Regions from separate parts of the Homo sapiens genome. Here all the other regions are linked to region 1. The links are contacts of gene promoters, found by promoter capture Hi-C in blood cells and fetal thymus (Javierre and others, 2016). All regions are on one chromosome and are shown on one strand. The core of a region is centred on a gene start or on the middle of the fragment in contact, and the rest is flanking DNA. Distances in the headings are between cores, read along the strand shown. Region 1 holds the start of NAA30 (N-alpha-acetyltransferase 30, NatC catalytic subunit). Region 2 overlaps TBPL2 (TATA-box binding protein like 2). Region 3 has its middle 8.0 kb from the start of KTN1-AS1. Region 4 overlaps KTN1 (kinectin 1). Region 5 overlaps PELI2 (pellino E3 ubiquitin protein ligase family member 2).

What was found. The method cuts DNA at HindIII sites, captures the fragments that hold promoters and counts their contacts. A CHiCAGO score of 5 or more calls a contact.
Region 2: a fragment that was not itself captured here is called in contact with the fragment with the promoter of NAA30 in region 1 in 1 of 17 cell types (naive CD8 T cells); the score reaches 5.5 in naive CD8 T cells.
Region 3: a contact is called between a fragment that was not itself captured here and the fragment with the promoter of NAA30 in region 1, in 1 of 17 cell types (naive CD4 T cells). The highest score is 5.7, in naive CD4 T cells.
Region 4: a fragment that was not itself captured here is called in contact with the fragment with the promoter of NAA30 in region 1 in 3 of 17 cell types (naive CD8 T cells, total CD8 T cells and total CD4 T cells); the score reaches 6.2 in naive CD8 T cells.
Region 5: a contact is called between a fragment that was not itself captured here and the fragment with the promoter of NAA30 in region 1, in 1 of 17 cell types (non-activated CD4 T cells). The highest score is 5.1, in non-activated CD4 T cells.

The regions. Positions count from the first base shown.
Region 1 is chr14:57,389,306-57,391,895 of GRCh38, reverse strand. NAA30 (N-alpha-acetyltransferase 30, NatC catalytic subunit) reads right to left here and starts at 1,310. Exons shown (of 5, transcript NM_001011713.3): 1 at 1,191-1,310; 2 at 168-939. The coding sequence starts at 938. RefSeq lists silencers at 783-932, 1,063-1,202 and an enhancer at 331-1,326. The HindIII fragment of the contact is 6,905 bases long and covers 1-2,590 here.
Region 2 is chr14:55,430,506-55,433,095 of GRCh38, reverse strand. The region is part of intron 4 of TBPL2 (TATA-box binding protein like 2); the gene reads left to right. It also overlaps a transcript of FBXO34 not described here. Among named protein-coding and RNA genes, the nearest start is that of TBPL2, 8.8 kb to the left of the region's middle. The HindIII fragment of the contact is 5,799 bases long and covers 1-2,590 here.
Region 3 is chr14:55,570,768-55,573,357 of GRCh38, reverse strand. No RefSeq gene overlaps it. Among named protein-coding and RNA genes, the nearest start is that of KTN1-AS1, 8.0 kb to the left of the region's middle. The HindIII fragment of the contact is 5,752 bases long and covers 1-2,590 here.
Region 4 is chr14:55,587,677-55,590,266 of GRCh38, reverse strand. The region is part of intron 1 of KTN1 (kinectin 1); the gene reads right to left. Among named protein-coding and RNA genes, the nearest start is that of KTN1, 8.8 kb to the right of the region's middle. The HindIII fragment of the contact is 2,445 bases long and covers 92-2,536 here.
Region 5 is chr14:56,123,260-56,125,849 of GRCh38, reverse strand. All of the region lies in intron 1 of PELI2 (pellino E3 ubiquitin protein ligase family member 2), which reads right to left. Among named protein-coding and RNA genes, the nearest start is that of PELI2, 6.1 kb to the right of the region's middle. The HindIII fragment of the contact is 1,845 bases long and covers 357-2,201 here.

The DNA.
Region 1 (2,590 bases), core at 61-2,560:
AAAACAATTTCATTAAATAACTAGGAATGTGTACAGCACTTGACATCATATAACGTACTATGATACGCAGCAGGAGATATCCACTGCCACATTCTGGGCCCTCACTCCCTGCCCCGCACAGTCTCGATCACTGCTGGGTTCACCCTCTTTTTATTCTATCCACTTACCAAGAAGCACAGCTGTGGCCAGTTGTGGATAAAATATCTATAGGTATAAATGGAGTAGGGTTCGGACAGATCTTTGGTGATCAGTCTCATGATATCGGGCATTTGTAGCTCGGATTCATATCGGACATATCGTATCGTCCGATCCTCCCCAGGCTCAACCTCCCTGCCCGAAGGGCTTCTTAAGCTGCAGTCGGCGGTCAGGGACGAAGACAGCAGCCGCACCTGCTCGTCTTCCTCCTCCTCCTCCTGCTCGGTGCCCTCGGCCAGTCCATTGCGGGCCGCCGCGGGATCGCTCGCCGCCGCTGCCTCCACCGGGCTGGGGACCGCAGTTCTTGCATTACTAGAGAGGGAGTGAGGGGGCCTCTCGCCCGAGTGTACCCCGGCTCCTTTTGTTGCAGTCGCTCTGGGGCCTCCGTCAGGGGTGGCTGTGGTCGCGGCCACCTCTGCTACGCTCAGGACCTTGCTCTTGAGGGAGGCGGCCGCCCGGAGGTGCCGCAGTTCGGGGCTAATCAATCCGTTGAGCTGCTGCTGCTCCTGCGGCGGCTGAGGGCAGCGGAGGCACGGATGCCCCTTGGCCGCCACCGTCGCCGACTCTCCGCCCGCCGGGCTCCTGCTGCCGCCGCCTTCGTGCTCTTCGTCGTCCTCCTCGTCCTCGCTGCAGCAGGCGAGGGCGGCCCCCGCCGGGAAGGGACAGCGGGGCTCGACCGCCGCCGGGGCCGGAGGTGCTGGTGGTGGGAGGAGGCTGCTAGGCCCAGGCGGTACCTCCGCCATCCTAGAAGCGACACAGACCGAGAGGGGAGGCCATGAAACCCGGCCGAGGAGCGCGGAGAACAGGGGGCGACGGATGGGGGGCGGCCGAGGTGGGGGGAACAAAGGCAGAAACCGTCCCTCACGGAGCTGCCCCCCAATTCCCCGCCACCCCCCCGCTCTTCAGCGCCGCCCAGCTGCTCAGCCGGCCACCGTCCCCGTCCGCCCGGGCCCACCCGCCAGCCCTGTCACTCGCGGCCCCTCCTCACGGCTCACCCCGCACGGGTCCCCGCCGCCGCTGCCGCCACTCCTCTTCCTCCGCCACCGCCGCCGCCTCCTTCGCAGCCGCGGCAGCCTCCACAGCCGCCAAGGTTCTCACTCAGCCGCCGTCGCCGTAAAGCGCCTCAGCTGTTAGGCCGGGTAAAGTTTCCTGGGCCTGGCTTTACGACACTTCCCTGCCTGCCGGCTGCCCGGGCCAAGAGAGAGGGGCGTGGAGGGAGGTGACCTGTGGAGGGGCGGGGACAAAGGTGTCTCCTGCGGGCTGCGGGGAAGGCCGCGTGCTAGTGGGTGGGGCTGTGGGGCCGGGAAGTTGCAGAGGGCTTTGGAGTCACAGGCTCCCAAACCCTCTTCCTCGGTTTGGGGGCGCCTCAACCTGCGGTGCTTGCCACGCGGGGCCGGGGAGGGATGGACCGGGCAGGCGCTCCCTGCTTAAAGTCTACCGCGCACTCCGAGCTGTAGCGAATCTCGCCAATTCGGGGCCTGTGGAACAAGCCGTTTACAAGTCACCTAAAAATGCCCTTTTAAAGCTGCACAGCGTTTAATGTTTGCCCTGACCAGGGGCAAGGAGGATGGGGGAGGAGCGATTAAAAATGGAGCAAATCAGAGAAGCCGACCGAAAAAGAAAGGAAGATTTGAGCTGTGAAAATATGGGGATGGCTGTCGAAACGTGGTGGTTTGCAGTGTGAATTAAGTTCAGCTGGCCCTTGCCACTTTGAGGCAAGGGAGTCAGCCCTCTTCCTCTCCCTCCTTACTCTGCTCCTCGCACCCAGTAAAATTGGAGGCAAAAGTGACTGACAGGTGTTGGGCAATTGCTAGCACACCTGGGGAAGGGTTAGAGAGAGGTGGTGAAAGAGAGTGACCAGGGCTAAGAAGCACACTCCTAAACTTGTGACACAAATAGGTTAGGAAGCACTGGTAAACAGGTGGCCTGATCCTCCCAGGGGATCTGCCTATCGAGTGCAAAGGGGATAGAACTTGAGCTTGTGGCTGGGCGCCTTCTGCTCTAGTCCACAATTGACTCCCGGCAGGTCTGAGCTGAGACAGGTAGTGTAACTCACCCGCTCACTGAACAAATTCGGTTTTGTTAAAAACCTGATTTATAGAGCTGGTCTGGTGTGCCGCAGATGGACGTTTTCAATATATAATTCTATGACGGAACACGTTTGCAACTTTTTGCCGTAATCTAAACTCTATGTATAAAGTATTTATTATGCTCGCAGATTCTGTGCCTCTGAAATCCAGACAGAGCACAACTGGGATGGCTTTTCTCTACTCCATTATGCGTAGAGCTTCAGTTGGAAGACTCTAAGGCTGAGGAGTAGAATTATTTGAAAACTTCACTTTCACCGCTGATGGTTGATGCAGGATAAAGGCTGGAGGCCTCAGTTCTAGTCCAT
Region 2 (2,590 bases), core at 27-2,526, 2.0 Mb after region 1:
TATTAAACCGAGGGGACTTAACTGCGCTGCTACAACTTGTTTCTAAGGTGAATTTTTTTTAAGTTACAGTAATGATGAAGTGTGTTATAAGTCTGGGGAAGTAGTTATTGTGGATTTTCCTCATTGCAGATAAATGGATAGAACTTTCTAAAGGAGCTCAATTAGACATTCCTTGAGCATTAGCTTGCATTAGCTCAGGAGGCATCCCTTAAAAATCTCATCTCTCCTGGATCTCACGCAGAGGAAGCCCTGTGTTGATGGGTATTCTTTCACCATAACTCTGTAGTGGCAGAGCCTGTTTTCTCCTGTAGGTGTTAAAAGATAAGAAGCAAATTCTCCTCCTGAAAAGTTGTGCCAATTTCTCGCTCTATAAATGTACTAAGTGTTCATTTTATCCTGTGGACACTGGGTGTCGATATTCTTTTTATATTTGCTAAATTGATTGACAAAAAGTTACATTGTTTTACATTTCTTTGATTTACTAGTGAGATTAAATAACTTTTTAGAAGTGCAGAAATTGCTATGTCATTTGCTCAGTTATCTATGGAGAGATTTATCTTTTGTTTTTGTTTTGTTAACTATTTTCACCATTTTATACTGTAAATATTTTTTCTCAGATTACTGTTTATGGTATTTTATGGTGTTTTTTTTGTTGTTTGTTTATTTGTTGTTTTTTTTTTTCTGAGACACGGTCTCACTGTGTTATCCAGGATGGAGTGCAGTGGTGTGATCTGGGCTCACTGCAACCTCCACCTCCCGGGCTGGAGCCATCCTTCCAGCTCGGCCTCTTAAGTAGCTGGGACCACAGGTATGCACCACCAGGCCTGGCTAATTTTTTTTTTTTTTTTTTGTAGAGACGGGGGTTTCCCCATATTGCCCAGGCTGGTCTCGAACTCCTGGGCTCAAGTAGTCCTCCCACCTTGGTCTCCCAAAGTGCTGGGATTACAGGCGTGAGCTACTACATCTGGCCTATGGTGGGTTTTTTAAAAAACACAAATTTTGAAGGGTATACTCATTTTATCCCATTTTTTTCTTTGTTTTCTACATTTGGCTTTGCCCTTAAGGCATTTGTGCACAGTATTATACAAATATTGACTTTCATATATTTTTTGGTCTTTTTCAGGTCCTGCTTTGTGATAGGAAAAGGATAGCTGGTATTTTGATTCACTTAGAGCTTTCTCTAGATGGAAATGTTCTATATCTGCACTGTTTAATGCAATGATATAGCCACTAGTCAGATGTGGCTACTGAGCACTTGAAATACAGCTAATACAACTGAGGGACTGAATTTATATTAATTGGACAGAGCAGATCTAGAATTTTGTTTCAATGTAAGATAATTATTTTTCCCAAATGATCAGTCGGTACTCAGATACATTTATTGAAGGATCCATTGTTACTACATTTCCCCCAATCTGTTTTTACATATTAAGTTCTTCACATGTGTCTGAGTACATTGCTGGACTTTCTCTTATGTTGATCCCAGGAATCTCCATTTTAAAGTGATTATTGGACAGTTGTGCAAGATGTCTGTAATAATGTTCATTTCAGCAATAGAACAGGGAAAACCTAATTAATAATAGGGTTTCAATTTGAAGTCATAAAGTAAAATTGTATTAGCCATATAGTACACATACTGAGCTGAAAGGATGGTCACATTGTATTAAGTTGGATTGCAGAGGGAGAAGTAAGCAGCTAAATGGTGTTTGTTATCCAACTTTCATTGTAAAATATGCTCATGTTACACATATTACACACATTCATGAGTGTCTTTTCTTATCTGAATTTATTCCTAAAATCTGATAGTGAAAGTTTGGATAATGAGTTCAGATAATAAGAGATACTTTTTATCCAAATATATTTGGTTTTGAAGTTTTGGATAGTGAGTTGTGAGAATTTAGTTAATAAGAGGTGCCAGTATTATCTCCACATTTTATCCAAACCTATTCTCTTTTGTTGTAACAGCAAGAGTATGAGGGATACCTGTGTTTGCGTAGGAAAAGTGCAGAAGATCAAATTTAGGTAGTTAACACCAGTATGGGTGAGATTTTAAGATTTTTAAACTACTTTCTAATGTTTGTACAATGAACATGTATATAGACTTTCAACTATTAGTTGTTTCAATAGAAACTTCTGTGTCCTTAGAATATCACAGCTGATATCCCAAGAAACTACAGGACTATGCAAACTTGAACAAATTTGAACTTATTTACATTACGGGAAATGTAATAGATTAGTTAGGCAAAATGTAGTTCAAAATGGAAACAGTTTATTTTACTGCTAACCTGGGGACATGGCCTTGCTAAGGACATTTCAAGAGTGAGAAGTGGGTGAAGAGAGCCAAGGGCAGTGCTGTGCAGCTGTAGTCAATCTAGTGAGTAGATACCAGATCAACAGATGGCCATGTGCAGTGGCTCACACCTGTAACCTCAGTACTTGGGGAGGCTGAGGTTGGGAGGGTCACTTGAGTCCTGGAGTTTGAGCCCAGCCTGGGCAAGACAGCAAGACCCTGTCTCTATAAAAATTTAGGCAGGTGTGGTGGTGCATGCCCCTGCAGGCTACTTAGGAGGCTGAGGCAGGAGGATCACTT
Region 3 (2,590 bases), core at 59-2,558, 1.8 Mb after region 1:
TCAGCCTTGCAGTCTTTATCCTCTAATCTAATTACCCATGCATCTTATGCTGCTAGTGCTCTCCTCCTCTCTGGGGGGTTGGGGTGTGGTTGGGGAAGTCTCTGGAAGATTTTCCATGGCTCTCTTTAATAATGAATGCTACACTTTTGCTAGTAAGATCCCTAAAGAATGCTCCCAGTAATGGAAGGTTACTTTGTAGTTCTTTAGTCCTCACTTGACAAGTTTTATTTGCTTGGAAAGTTAGATCAGTTTTAGGTGATCAGTATTAGCTCTTCAACAAGGCCTAAATAAAAAATTTGGTCAACATACAGGCAGCAGGCTGTCATATATGTGTCATATAAAAGAAAAACAAAAAAGTTCTCTTTCACTGCCTGCACAACCTTCATCCTGACCAACTATGTTGCAGGGATAAACCTGGCCTGAGGAATCAGGCTAGAGAATGTCGATATGTCAGCATAAACCATCACCACTGCTGTCCAAATAACTCTTAATATGACCAGGCGAGGGCAGATCAGTAGCAACAAATCAAATCAAGTCAGCAAATATTTATAACGTGCATAGCATCCTGTTAGGTGTTTGAATGTAAAACATGCATTCAAAAATTTTTGTCCTCTGAAGTGGTGCTCACATTTTAACCCTCGCTCCTGTTTACTGACTCCTATTCAGTTCCTTTGTGATAACACTTGGACCCCAGCCAGCCCTTACCCAGTGTTTTTCCCCCTGTAGCATGACAGCTCTGTTAACCTTCATAGGCTTTGTTCCATTTATTTTTGACCACATCTCCAGTATACCAATTTCTTCTGAGTCAACAATTTTTTTAAAGCCACCTTTTGGTACTTCTGTATATTGTTTTGGAAATTTTCTATTTATGAGAAAAAGCAAATAGATTCCAAGCTCTGTTACAAATCATTATTCCATGAAGGCTGTAGAATAATTTCTCTAGATGCCAAGTCTCATGACACAGAGCTCTGGATGTCAGCCTTTTCAGCCCCCTCAGGGACCTCACTCCATCAGCAATGCCCTTTCTGTCTGTATTTCCAACCTCTCCCTCTCTGTCAGTCATTAGTGCATTGAGAGCTCTCTCCACTTAAATGGGAAAAAAAAAGTTACTTCCAACTCCAGATCACCCCATCTACCTCATTTCTTGCAAAGCCAGGTTTTTGGTTGGTTGGTTGGTTGGTTGGTTGGCTGACTGGTTAATTAAGAGTCACTTACTTAGGATGGGTGTGATGGTTCACACCTGTGATCCCGGCACTTTGGGAAGCTGAGGTGAGTGGATCACTTGAGCTCAGGAGTTTGAGACCAGCCTGGGCAACATGGTAAAACCCCATCTCTACCAAAAAATACAAAAATTAGCTTGGTATGGTGGTGTGTGCCTGTGGTGCCAGCTACTCCAGAGTCTGAGGTGGAAGGATCACTTGAGCCCGCGAGGTGGAGGTTGCAGTAAGCTGAGATCACACCACTGCACTCCAGCCTGGGTGATAGAGTGAGACCTCGTCTCAAAAAAAAACAAAAGGAGTCACTTACTTGACTGAGTATTTTCACTCACATTCACTCCTCATATTATGCTTCTGTACCCACAACTAGATTCTGAAACACTTCTCACCAAAGTCACCAATGACATTCTTGCTGCTAACTCTAGTGAAGCATCTCAGTCTTCATCTGGTAAAACCTCTCTGTTACATATGACAGCACTGATCACTTCTTGAAATGCTTCTCTTTCCTTGACTTCAGTCGAAACCTCATCCACATGGCTCTTCTGACACACCACACACCATTGCTTCTGACAAACTGATAATCACAGCAGAGTGAGACAATGGGCAAAGAATTCACAAGCAGCAGCTAACATTACAGAATGGTTGGAATGGCTATCAAAAAAACAGCTTTGGTGACAAATGAGAGACAGAGACCGAGGCATTAGAGTGCTGTTCTACCAGATGCAATATGTGTGCTCCAAATCAGCTACAAATCTGTATGACTTTTTAAAAAATCTGTAGACAAAATATATAGGTGCAGAAACCAAAAGGAAGAAGTGAGAATGGCTCTTAATTTTTTTTTCTTTTTTTTTTTTTTTGAGGTGGAGTCTTGCTCTGTCTCCCAGGCTGGTGTGCAGTGGCTCAATCTCAACTCACTGCAACCTCAGCCTCCCGGGTTCAAGTGATTCTCCTGATTCAGCCTTCCGAGTAGCTGGGATTATAGGCGTGTGCCGGCACACTGGGATAATTTTTGTATTTTTAGTAGAGACAGGGTTTCGCCATGTTGGCCAGGCTGGTTTTGAACTCCTCACTTCAGGTGATCTGCCCACCTCAGCCTCCCAAAGTGCTGGGATTACAGGCATGAGCCACCGTGCCCCGCCAGCTCTTATTATTATACCTATTAATCTCTGCATATTTAGAGGTCTTGGATGCCAGGGGAGGAAGACTTCTATCAGGAGATAAATATATCCTATTTGATCTGACAGTTGAGGCTTCCAGGTGGTCGTTTATGTGTTTTTCCAGCCACCGAACAGACAGAGAAGGGATATGCTATTCTTACTGGAATCATGGATCCATACTACCAAGGGGATCTGACCCCTGCTTGATTTTCTTGT
Region 4 (2,590 bases), core at 65-2,564, 1.8 Mb after region 1:
AATAGTGGTTTCAACTTTCAATAAAACAATAAAAAGACAAGTAGGAAGAGATAAATGTAAATCAAAACAAACAAGCAAACAGGCATAAGCTTCCCTGCTTCTTAACTTATACAATTACAATAAAAGCACTGAATAATTGTAGAAAGTTATTCCTACTTTGGAAGAAATTTTCCCCAAAAAGAAAAGTCCTTTAAAATAAGAAATCTATTAAAAATGTTTACAGAAAATATCTAGGTTTGTATGTGTGGTTTTTTTTGTTTTGTTTTGTTTTTACTTATTACAAAGCTACCTTAAGAAATCAGATAAATAAGGCTGGGTGCAGTGGCTCACACCTGTAATCCCAGCACTTTAGGAGGCTGAGGTGGGCAGATCACAAGGTCAAGAGATCGAGACCATCCTGGCCAACATGGTGAAACCCCGTTTCTACTAAAAATACAAAAATTAGCTGGGCGTGGTGATGCATGCCTGTAGTCCCAGCTACTCAAGAGGTTGAGGCAGGAGAATCACTTGAACCTGGGAGGCGGAGGTTGCAGTGAGCAGAGATCGTGCCACTGCACTCCAGCCTGGGCGACAGAGAGACACTCCATCTCAAAAAAAAAAAAAAAAAAAAGAAATCAGATGAATATAGTAACCAAGAATAATAATTAAAGAATCTCTGGCCCAGCATGGTGGCTCATGCCTGTAATCTCAGCACTTTGGGAGGCTAAGGCAGGTGGATCACTTGATTTCAGGAGTTCGAGACCAGCTTGGCCAACAAGATGAAACCCCATCTCTACTAAAAATACAAATATTAGCGAGATTTGGTGGCAGGTGCCTGTAATCCCAGCTACTCAGGAGGCAGTAGAATCGCTTGAGCCCAGGAGGCAGAGGTTGCAGTGAGTCAGAGGTTGCAGTGAGCCAAGATTGTACCACTGCACTCCAGCCTGGGTGACAGAGCGAGACGCCGTTTCAAAAAAAAGAATCTCTTTATACCAAAAGTAGTATGTTATTTTGAATGCTGCCAGGACTTTCTGCTTAAATGAAGGTTACATAACACTGAAAGGATATGAAATATAACTACCAATTTATGCCAGGTAATTAATCCTAAAAGAGCAGACAAAAATTCGGCTTTCATCACTTTACAACTAACTTATATTTATGAATTACTTCTTTTCTCCCCAAAACCTCAGACAAGGTAAATGCCTCGGCTGTATTTTATGTATAATTCCAAGGCTAATCTTGAATGTATAACTGACCTTTGAACACTATGGGTTTAAACTGTGTGGGTCCACTTCATGCAGATTTTTTTTTCGGTAACTATATTGGAAAATTTTTTGGAGACTGCAACAATATGAAAAAAACTCACAGGGAAACCACAGCCTAGAAATATTGAAAAAAATTAAGAAAAATGTCATGAATGCATAAAATATATGTAGATCCCAGTCTATTTCATAATTTACTACCATAAAATATACACAAATAATAAAGTTAAAATTTATCAAAACTTACACAAACCAGACCCTATATGGTTACTGTACATGGTGCCATTTGCAATAGATGGAAATGTAAACAAAGGTCAAGATACAGTACCAAATCACAACTGCATAAAATTAACTGCAGTACATACTGTACCACTGTAATAATTTTGTGGCCACCTCCTGTTGGTATTACTGTGAGCTCAAGTGTCTGAAGTATCCCTGACTCCTATCCATGACTCTAATTATCTCCACATGAGCATTCTGTCCTTCCAGTAACAGTATCACAGTAAAAAGTGATCATAGTTCTCGCATATTTTTCATCATTTTTAGCACAACACTGTAAACCCTGAATAACACCATGAGACCCATGCCAAGTGCCACTAGTAATGCTGGAAGTGCTCCCGAGAAGCAGAGAAAAGTCATGACAAGGAAAAGTTGAATTACTTGATATGTACTTAGACTGAGGTCTGCAGTTACAGTTGCTCACTGTTTCAGACAGATGATTCATCTTACAGATGATATAAACTTATGGTATCAATAAACAGTACAGTATTGTAAATACACAGTCTCTTATGATTTTCTTAGTAGCATTTTCTTTTCTTTAGCTTTATTATAAGAATACAGTATATAATACATATAACGTACAATATACATGTTAATTGACTATTTATGTAATTGGTAAGGTTTCCAGTCAAAAGTAGGGTACTAGTAGTTAAGTTTCTGGAGAGTCAAAAGTTATACAAACATTTCTGACTGTACAGGGTGCTAGTGCCCCTAATTCCCACATTGTCCAAAGGTCAGCTGTATTTTTTACTTGAAAAGTGCTCCAGAATTTTCAAGCTCAGAAATACTTCAAGTTAAAACTAAATCCAATTATTTAGACTAAAAGAAAAAAAAGAGTGAAAGAATTAAGCCACTTTTACAAAAGGATTCAATTTAAACTTAAAATTACAGCAAACATCTAGTCAAACTGGAAGCTATTTAAGAAATGATTCTCCAGCAATAGAGTACCAAGCACAAAGATTATCCAGCACAGCACCTGAAACTGTACCCAGAAATAAGAGCACTAAATACAAGCTTGAGGAATTCCCTTTACAGAAATCATGACATTCAGCCAACCTCAAGAGACCCAG
Region 5 (2,590 bases), core at 30-2,529, 1.3 Mb after region 1:
CACCAGAAAGGGAAGCCCAGCATTCCAAGGAGGGGGGAAGTCAAGGTTCCTACCCTCAAGGGGCAATACGCTCTGGTGGAATTCAATGGCCACTCTGGGCACATGGCAAGCAGCACAGAGGGCAGAACCACGTTTTTGTCCAGGGATACTTAACTATCTGCCCTTGTATTTGTTTACACTTCTATTTTTCCCTTCAGTAAATTGCTTATATACGTTGCCTCTTAACGGGATACTTGGAATCTTCTGATTGAAAGAGCAGAACCCACTCAAGGTGGCTTAAACAGAAAAAAAAGTAAGTAAAAACCGAAAGAAGTGGGGACTCTCAAAGGACACAGGACTATTTTCTCGGAAAAGCTTTTCCTGATTATTTTGTCCAAAAGGATCCCCCACTACCTTATCCCTAGCATTTCACCCTGCCAATTCACCCCCCCCCTGCCCACCCAATAACTCTCTTCCTCCTTATCCTGCTTTAGTTTCCTCCCAGCAGTCTCTGAAGTTCCATTTTTTATCTACTCCTTTGCTTGCTCACCTCTCTCAAAAAAAGGTAAGCTCCAAGCAGGCAGGAAGGGCAGCTGTCTGTCTTGTTTGCTGGTGTAGCCCAGGGCTGGGAGCAGTGCTGGTCCTCAGTCAGTATCTTGAGTCACTGAATGAATGGTCAATCACACGAAACTAGGTCTCAGGAGGTACCCGAACCAGGAACTAGAAGCAAGACAGCTGCCCTCTAGCTCACACTCCATTCTCTCTCTGCCTTGTTGGGCTGCAGCCTCAGTTTCTCCTTCCAACTCCACTGTGCCTTCCAACTCCACTCTGCAAAGAGCAGAGGGCTTTCTTCACTCCCATCTCATACTAGCAAAACCCTGAGACAGTCTCCTGTGCTCTTAGGGTAAAGTCCAAACCCCTTCCAATATCTTATAAGCCCTTCATGATATCCCCCCATCATCATCCCTCACAATGTTTCATTCAATCATTCTTTCCTAGCCATAAAGAGTGTTTCTCTGTTCCTCAAAGTAGCTGCACGTTTTCATCTCTAGGTTGCAGAATACTCCAAACCTTCTTCGGAAAGCACTCCTTCCCTCTTATCTCCATCGTGGTCATCCCCATCTCATCCTGGCACATGGCTAGGGGACCCTGCTAACACATCCACCATCCCAGCCTTCAGGTCTTCCAGCTAGGCTGTCAGTGCTGCAGCAGCAGGGACCATGACTGTCTTGTTCATCTGCGTATCCCTTAGTGCAATCCACAGCATCTGACAAGTGGCAGATGCTCAAATATTTGGGGAATAAATAAATGAACCATGTATCAGTAACGGTTATTCACAAAGAGGCTGGGACAAAAATAAGAGAGCAGTTCACCAGGAAAAGGAATGTGTCTGCCTTGTCCTAGCTGTATTCCTCATGCCTGGAAGAGTAGACAGCCAATAAATATTTGCTGAATGCATACATTCCTGGCTTGCCTGATGTAACTCCACCCCTTTCTCTCCCACTTGAGAAAACACATCAGAATGCAAAAGGGTGAAAAATGACATTATTAACATGACATATCTGAATCATTTGAAAGATCCACACTTTATTACTTGTCATAAATTACTGGCCACATACCCTCAAGACTGATCATCACATATGAGGTACTTGAGACAGTGGTTGAGAACAGGTGATTTAGACAAAGCTAAGAAATATGAAGCACTTTCTGCTCTTATTATTTTATTTTCCAGAAGATGAAGGTGACAATAAGCTCAGTAAGAACTAATAACTGAATTATTCTAACCTTTACTTTTCTTTTTATAAAATAGATTTCTGCACACCCCAGGAGAAACGTTTAATTAAATCAAAAGACATTATAAATTCCTTTTCACAGTTATTTTTCTCCCATACCAATGAGGTCTACCAAGTTGCTGTTGTCTCCATTCAAAAGCCAACCTACAACCCCATATACCTACTTTCAGGAAGGCCACACTGCAAGCCCTGCACAGCAGATATAAAACCAGTGCTCCAATGTGACAATATTGGTCTTCCTCAAATATAGCAACGGCTATTTTGTTTTGTTTTGGTCCTTTGTGCATAAGTATTTTATCTTTTCGATAAAATGTTTGGTAAAATTACTGAACCTGAATCAAGCCTGTTTTACTTTCATTTATACACAGCATCCCCAAATATTGATCACAGGATGAAACACAACCAGAAATGAAAAGACCTAATGAAGCTTTCAGTCTTGGTGTGTTAAAGAGAGAAATAAATAAATCTGAGAAAGCCAGACCAGAAACCACACAGCAACACAGACAGCCACATATTCCAAACAAGGCTAAAGTTAGTAAAGGAAAATATAGCAACTCAAAGCCAGTAACACCGTAACCCTTAATAGCCCACAGAATTAGACACTCCATCCACACAAACAGATCTGAGCTCTTCAGATCACCCCACATGCTGAGCTACAGTAAAGATTTTGTTTTATAAATTTTTTTAAAGTTCAAAGACCTTTTAGTCTATAAAAGATACTAATGTTTGATGTCTTTGGGCCCAAATTAGAGTGGAGGATGAGAAAAGGAAAAGTGTTAGGGTATATTTGAAGGTTTCTTATTGCCACCAAAGGGTGG